Regions from separate parts of the Homo sapiens genome. Here region 1 is linked to region 2. The links are contacts of gene promoters, found by promoter capture Hi-C in human tissues and cell types (Jung and others, 2019). All regions are on one chromosome and are shown on one strand. Each heading gives the region's core, a stretch centred on a gene start or on the middle of the fragment in contact. The rest is flanking DNA. Distances are from core to core; before and after follow the strand shown. Region 1 overlaps P3R3URF-PIK3R3 (P3R3URF-PIK3R3 readthrough). Region 2 holds the start of NSUN4 (NOP2/Sun RNA methyltransferase 4).

Evidence for each region. Contacts are between HindIII fragments. The study calls those that stand out against the background at their distance.
Region 1: a contact is called between a fragment that was not itself captured here and the fragment with the promoter of NSUN4 in region 2, in 1 of the 25 tissues and cell types used here (aorta).

Annotation. Positions count from the first base shown.
Region 1 is chr1:46,135,139-46,139,082 of GRCh38, reverse strand. The region is part of intron 1 of P3R3URF-PIK3R3 (P3R3URF-PIK3R3 readthrough); the gene reads left to right. LOC101929626 (a long non-coding RNA gene) reads right to left here. Exons shown (of 3, transcript NR_125987.1): 3 at 2-216. It also overlaps a transcript of PIK3R3 not described here. Among named protein-coding and RNA genes, the nearest start is that of PIK3R3, 4.5 kb to the right of the region's middle. The HindIII fragment of the contact is 9,955 bases long and covers 1-3,944 here.
Region 2 is chr1:46,339,451-46,343,376 of GRCh38, reverse strand. NSUN4 (NOP2/Sun RNA methyltransferase 4) reads right to left here and starts at 2,570. Exons shown (of 6, transcript NM_199044.4): 1 at 2,458-2,570. The coding sequence starts at 2,550. RefSeq lists enhancers at 1,283-1,372, 2,500-2,709, 3,370-3,926. The HindIII fragment of the contact is 4,996 bases long and covers 961-3,926 here.

The DNA.
Region 1 (3,944 bases), core at 168-2,667, 200 kb after region 2:
ATTTGGTATATGTGATGGCCAATTATATTTTTTGTTTATTTGAAAATATATTGCTTTTGAACGTATACACCCATGACATAATTTAGAATTTCACACACTGACATCAACAGGGAAGGAATAGGGTCCCGAATGAAGTTTGGAGAATAGTAGTGATCTTCACCGAATGTCTCCTTTCCAAGAAGTGTAAGATGAGCAGAATGGAAGGTAGCCTCTACCCTGGAAGAAAATCACTGTAAGTGTATCATTTTCAATCAAATGCTCAAAGCTGAGGACACAAACAATCATGTTCATGCCTTTTACATTCCATGCTTATACTTTCTTACCCAAGTGGTGATCTTTAAACCCTAGAAGTCACACCATTTTCCCAGATTTCAAGAATGATGCCCCTGCAGAAGTGTTTGGGGAGGCTGCAGGACTTTGTTTTTGAGACAAGGTCTCACTCTGTGCCCAGGCTGGGAGCAGTGGCACTATCTTGGCTCACTGCAGCCTTGACCTTCTGGGCTAAAGCGATCCTCTGGCCTCAGCCTCCCAAGTAGCTGGGACTACAGGAGCACACCACCACACCTAGCTGATTTTTTTAATTTTGTAGAGACAGGGATCTCCATATGCTACTCAGGCTGGTCTTGAACTCCTGAGCTCAAGTGATCCTCCTGCCTCAGCCTCCCAAAGTGTTAGGATTATGGGCGTGAGCCACCATGCCTGGTCTTTTTATCTTTTTAAACCAAAATTATCCAATAAGGGAACTGGACTGATATTGCCCTCTAACAATGAAACGTATAAAATGGTTTTTAGATTTGAGACCTGTGGAATTACAGGGCAATTATTGGACATTCCAGAAAGAAGGCATAAACTACAAGTTGCTCAAAGCTATTGAAATAATGACCACAGGAAGTGAGCATGCTTTAAAGCCCTATATGGTGTTATATTTCAGAAAAAAGCTGAGCTGGAAAATGAAACCAGTTTCTCTTCTAGCTGCTGAATTTTCCTGAATTTCCTACAAACTGCTTGGAATTTTGCAAACAATTCACAGCTGATAAAATAAAAGGGCAGCGGAACTCAGCGTCTGTGGTGAAGACCCTAGGGTCAGCCAGAGGGAGGGAAAGGTCATTGTCTGCCCCTCTTGGTTCCTGTAGCCAAAGAACTGTACAAGTTTTTGGTTTTCTTTTCCTCCGTTTAAATAAACAAAGTCAGCTGAATACCTACAGAAAGGATTACTAGGATAATTTGAACTTAGACTCCCCAGAGCCTTCCTGGAGAGTTTACTTGCACTTTTGCTTATTCGCTCGAAGAATATTCACTGGCTACCCACTGTGTGCCAGGCCTTGGGCTGGGCATTGATGGTTAAAGGACCATGAGGAACCACTGTTGTCCAACATGAGGAACTCTAAAGAGTGATAGGAGAGAGAACTGGAAGCAAACACTTTGAACATGGTGTGCCAAGGGCTGTGCAGAGGCCAGCACAGGGGTCTGTGTGAGCACAATGTATAAGATCAGATGCAGAGAAGTAGGAGTTTGCCACTTTCTAATGGAATCAGCTTTCGACGAAACTTTTTCAGGCTTAGAGTTAATTGTGAATTGCGAAAACTGAGAAGTAAAGGACCACACATTTAAAGCAGGTGCATGCAAGTCTGGGGCAGCCAAATGTCACCTCTTCCAGGAAGCTTCTACTCACCTGCACATGGTTAGAGATCAGCACTGTTTTTGGGGCTCCCCCAACACACTTTGTCAAATTCTTGATTATAGCGCTTATTGTGTCTTTAATTATTTATTCCTTTGTTGGTCCCTCCTCTATGAATTCTGGACTCAATGTTAGGGACTCAGTCTTATTCACTTTTGTATCTTCAGTGTTTGGAAGCACCAACAAACATTTGCTAAGTGAGTGAATGGGAGAGGAAGGCTGTGTGGTGCAGCGGGAAAGGCAATGAACTGGTAGTCAGGACATGGGGCTCTAATCCTGACTCTGCTACTAGTGACTGCATGACTTTGAACAAATCCCCTCATTGCTCTGGGTCTCAATTTCCTCATCTGTAAAATGAGAATAAAAATACAGCCTTCCACCCCAGGGTTATGGAGATTAAATGAGGTAACAGAGCTTCACCAGCTGCCTGCCCTGTTTGTGCCCTGTCCTCCTGAAACAGCCTGGACTATTGTTCCTGCCATTTGGATCTAATTTGTGCTCTCTCCCCTGGTGAGAGCTGAGCTGAAATCTGTTGCCTTGTTGGAGGGGAAGTTTGCAGCAATGGCATACATATTATCCAGTTGGCCCCTGTGTTACTACAAGGGCAGACATCAAAAGTGAGGAAGATGTCAAGCTAGAGAGATTTGCTTCTTTTGTTACCCCTAAACCTAAATGAGGACCCAAAGTGGGAAGAGTGAGGCAGAGCAGATCTACATCACATGCTGAGGTGTATAAGTGAGGCCTCAAACATTGTCCCCTAAGCCCTGGAATTCAGCAGCATCTAGGGGAATGCCACTTTAATGAAGTCTACTCATTCATATAATGTCATAATTTCTCAGTGCCTTGGGTTAAATGATTAACTCTATCATGGGTATTCAAGTGCTAAGAAAGATGAGGAAAGGTAAAAAATTGCAAATGCCAAATACAAGGAATACCATTTGGAAAAAATGGAAAATCACGATTTTAGACACTGCTGTCTCAAGAGATGACTATTGATTTTCAGGTGAGATGTCTTTCCAGAAGATCCACTAACATGGTTCTTTGTACATTGTGAAGGCAAACTTTTCCATCAAAACTTGATATATCTTCTACTTACAAGTCAAGTGTCTGGGGAGGCCCTAAAAATCTGCAACTGATAATTTGTAGGGCTTTCTGGGAGTCATATTTGTTAAATGAGTTTATTTAATTGCATGGACTGGGCCTTATCACAAGACAAGTGGTCAAGGGAAAATGGTGAGAGAAGAAAAAGAAGGTATTGAGGCTGGTAGAATCCCTACCCAAAGTCTAAAGTCAGTTCTGGTGCTAATGCTAGTGATCAAAAAAAAAAAAAAAAAGTATATTTCCATTTTGCAAGGCTTTTTTTTTTTTTTTTTTTGAGACTGAGTCTCGCCCTGTTGTCCAGGCTGGAGTGCAATGGCGTGATGTCGGCTCACTGCAACCTCTGCCTCCTGCATTCAAATGATTCTCCTGCCTCAGCCTCCCGAGTAGCTGGGATTACAAGCGCTTGCCAACATGCCCAGCTAATTTTTTTATTTTTAGTATAGACGGAGTTTCACCACGTGGGCCAGGCTGGTCTCAAACTCCCGACCTCGTGATCTGCCCACCTCAGCCTCCCAAAGTGCTGGGATTACAGGCATGAGCCACCGTGCCCGGCCCCATTTTGCAAGGCTTTTAAAAAAATATTGTGCGCTCAGATGGCACCTTTAATCACGAAGAACTTCTGGCTGAGTTCCAGACTGATTCTGCTGGCACAGAGAGCTCTGAGATCATACCCTATATTCAGAGCACAGAAGAAATATTTCATCCATCTCTGAAATAAAGAGGAAGAAATGAAGCATATTTGAACAGTTGCAGAAAAAAACCATACCAGGGTGAAAAGTGAAGGGCATCCTAGCCATTTGGAGTTACAGAAAAGTACTATTAATCCTAAATACTTAAGTGGCATATTTTTTCATTCTAAGTGTTTCACTATAAACTAAGCAGCTTGCATAAATCTATTTCATAGATATATAAATGAAAGCAGATTTCATGATTTACCTAAGACTACTTTAAATTAAAAAAAGAAAGGGAGAGGGCAAAGGAAAACAAGCAGCTCCCAAAGTAGCAGGTTGTGACCCAGGAGCTTGAGTGCTTAGAGCTGAATTTAATCCACACCCAGGTCAAATATAATTCTCCAACTTGGAAGTGGTCCAGGACACCCGAGCTAACATTTTTTACCTTTGCCAAAGAGCCTGGGGCAGTTTGGTGACAAGCAATCACAACCTCA
Region 2 (3,926 bases), core at 1,321-3,820:
ACAGGGGACAGTATCAGGGTAGGCCCGGACTCGGGGGACAATGGGTAAACTTTGAGGATCAAAGGGTGTTCTCAAAGGGATAAAAGAATAGATGTGGGTAGAACAAGGAGGCATCACAGGCTGACAACGAGGTTGGGGTGGGCCCCTGGGAGTGCTATAGGTGTCACACAGGGGCACAATGGGAGGGGGGCCTGTCGAATGATTGAGGGAGCCAGACAGTGGGCAGGGATGGGGGGTGGAGGGAACCACAGAGCATATATGGGTATTGCAGGGGGGCCCTATGGAGGGTCCATGGCGGCTGCTCTGAGCATAACTATTGGCCGAGACAGGATCACAAGGAAGGCAGAGGGGAAAAGAAGTGGGGATAACACTTTTGAGAGCTCTAGGGACCACAGTCAGTAAGGTAGTCCCTGGGGGAAGTTCTTTGGGGCTGGAATTTGAAGGAGTTGTGATGTATGGCTGCATACAAGAAGGACCAGAGAGGCAGGAGGGAGGTGGGGGACAGGTGTGGGCCTTAGCGGGCTTGGGCTGGCCAGAAGGGGTGTGCTGGGGAGTGTTGACTAGGGAGAGACATTTGTGGGGAGTATGTGACTGTCTTAACTCTGGGGACTTAGGGGACTTCGGTTGGGGGGAAACTGGAGTGGGAAGAGGGGGTTCATTATAGCTTCTGCGGGGAAGTGACTGGGGTGGAGATATAAACTGGTTGCCCAGGGGTGAAGGGAAGGAAAGGACAGAATGAGGACCATGGGGACGAGATGGTTCCTGGGAACAGGGGGGACCAGAAGTTGTGGTGTCCGGGGTTAGGATGAGGTAAGAGTTCCCAGTTGCCTCCCAGGAGAGAAGGGACTCAATGCAAGCCTTCCTGGGAGCCTGGGACTGGGGTGAGCAAGGAGAATCAGTACTCCCGGGGCACAGGCAGATGGCATAGCAAGGACTCCCAGGGGTAGGTATGTAGGCCTCTGAGGAAAGATGGGAGTAATGATAAGAGCCCTCCTGAGGTGAGCTGGGAGAGCCAGGCATGCCTGCCTGAGAAGAGAGTGGGAAGCCACAACAATTTTTCTCAAGGGGCAGGTCAAGCTGTGGTTTGGGTTCACAAGAGTCTAGAGGCTTAAGGCTGCCATGGTAAAAGCTGCCAGTAGGTGGGGAAGATGCTGGGGAGAGAAGGGGGTCATTATAACTTCTCCCTGAGAACCAGTGAGAGGGCAGAGAGATCATCAGCCCAGTTTCCAAAACTCTGTGAGAAAGGGTTGGGGAGGCCATAGGACTAGTTTCCACCGGCCGGCGAGCAAGAGGAGGTGAAATCGTGAGGCAAGTTCCCGGGGTCCTATGTGTAGGAGGAGGCGAAATCATGGGTCCAGTTTCCAAGGGTACATGAGTGAGCTGAGGGGAGGTCACTGGGCTCGTTCCCGGGGACTGATGAGCAAGGGGAAAGGAGGTTGCCGGGCTGGTTCCAAAAGCTGAAGGCCATCCGCTAGAGTAACAGAGATTAGTGTGCTGGTCACAGTACGTGCCTTGAAGACAGGGACGCCGCATTCTGGAGGGACTCATCCAGCTGCAATAAGGTGTCCGCTGACAGAGAGGGGGTGACCCCGGAATGCTGAACTGCTCAAAATAAGGGCTGGAGAGTGGGGAACCCGAGTGGCAGGGCTAGCGGCAGTAGGTCCTTTCCAGGAGTGGGGAAGAGGACTCAAAAGACCATCTCCCTGAGTGCGAGGAAGGTTGTGGGGGTGGAAGAGATGGTGGAGGTGGCGAGGGAATCGGCTGGGGTGGGCAGGGGGGCGTGCCGGTCATAGAAGAAATTCCAGGGCTTCCAGTGAGGCAAGAAAAAGGGTCTCTGGAGAAGCAAGGAGAGTCCAGAGGATGAGAGGATTCGTTGCACCTTTTGCCAGGGTTTGGGCCGGCAGTATGGACAGGGTGGTCGCTGTAACCTTGCCCGGTCGCCAGAGGCAGCTCGAGGTTGAGGAAGGGGCTGAATCCTTTCCTGCAAGGCGGCGGAGACCCAGGAGTGCAGGCAAGGTCGCTATGGTATTTTCCGAGGGGTGAGGGCGACCGGGCTGGAAAATCAATGAGGAAAGGAGAAGTCATGTGGGGGAAGAATGGGCAAGGGAAAGGGGGAGGGGAGGGAGGGAAGTAAAAGGGGGAGTGGGGGACAGAAAGGTAGGTGGACACAGCTGGGGAACAAGAGACAGTGACATCACTAAAAGAATGAAGGCGAAGGTGATGACGCAACTTGGGCGGAGTCAGGAGACTGCAGACGTAACAAGTGGAAGACACTAACGCTCGGGACATAGAGTGCGGACAGAGGCGGTGACGGAAAAGACGAGAGAGGGAGGTGCCTAAGGACGTTCCGTGGAGTGCTTGGGAAAGACGCTAGGCGTTCTAGAGGGCCGGGAAACGGAAAGACTGGAGAAGTTTCCACCCTCACTTTTCCCTCCTGCGCCCCCAGCCGGACCTTACCCATTTCTTCTTATATCGATGTCTCCGCGGGACCGTCGCGAGGTCCACACGCTTCAGCAGCTCCCGGACACCCCTCAGTGTCAGCGCAGCCATATCGGCGTGCTCCACGGGGTAATTCCGACCGGAACCGCGACAGGAGACTCGCGTGTTCCGGGGAGGTGGTGAGCGCCACCCGGCGGGACACGAGCGAAAAAAGGGAAAGGAAATACATCTGACGCTCTCCCAGGACTCCGCGCGCCTCTACAGACTCCGCCCAGCCAGGAGTCCCCTGAAGGCTGCTGGAAAAAGAGCAACCTGGCACCCGGAATAATGACTCTGCCTGGATGCTTAGAGCAGTGCGAGGGACTCCCAAGAAGCCCCTAGCCCACTTGGGGGACCAGGGAGGATTAGGAGTTGGTGGTTGAGTACCGAAAGAGTTAGCTAGGCGAAAAGGGGCGGGAAGGGCCTCCTAGGCCGAAATTGCATGGAGGAAGATCCTTAGGTAGAGGAAAATGAGACCAGGCTTGTAGGCAGAAGCAGATTTGCAGTGAAACAAATGAAGCTTAAGTTTCGGGACCTGGCCGGGCGTGGTGGCTCACGCCTGTAATCCCAGCACTTTGGGAGGCCGAGGCGAGCAGATCACGAGGTCAGGAGATCGAGACCCTCCTGGCTAACACGGTGAAACCCCGTCTCTACCAAAAATACAAAAAATTAGCCGGGCGAGGTTGCTGGCGCCTGCAGTCCCAGCTACTCGGGAAGCTGAGGGATGGCGTGAACCCGGGAGGCGGAGCTTGCAGTGAGCCCAGATCGCGCCACTGCACTCCAGCCTGGGCGACAAAGCGAGACTCCGTCTCAAAAAAAAAAAAAAAAAAAAAAAAAGTGGAGGCGTGAATAACCCACCCCTTGTTTAGCGTACCATCAAGAAATAACCATAAAAATGGGCAAGCAGCCCTTGGAGCTGCTCTATCTATGGACTATCCATTCTTTTATTCTTGTACTTTAATAAACTTGCTCTCACTTTGCATTGCGGACTCGCCCTGAATTCTTTCTTGTGCGAGATCCATGAACCTCTCTTGGGGTCCGGATCGGGACCCCTTTCTGGTAACAATGCCTGTAATCCCAGCCAATCTCCCTGCCTTTTGATCTCCCTGCCTCACTCCTACCCACCCTGATAATTGGCTGTTGAATGATCATTTAAAAACACAGTTTCTGATCATGTCCCTCCTCTCCACTGGATCCCTACTGGTGATGTCAAATGTTGTGGGGCCTAACGCTTCCGCAATTTGAGAAGACATAGTTAAGAAAAATAATACAAAACTTGGCCGGGCGCGGTGGCTCACGCTGCCCCCAGCCGAAAGCTTTTTCTTATTTGGCATTTGAATGTGGAATTTTGGAATTTTCTTATTGGCAACAAATACTGTCAGTTATTTTCCTTGAAGTGACAGGCTCACTTTGTTCATTTTTCAAGAAAAAGGCTGGCCGGCACTGTG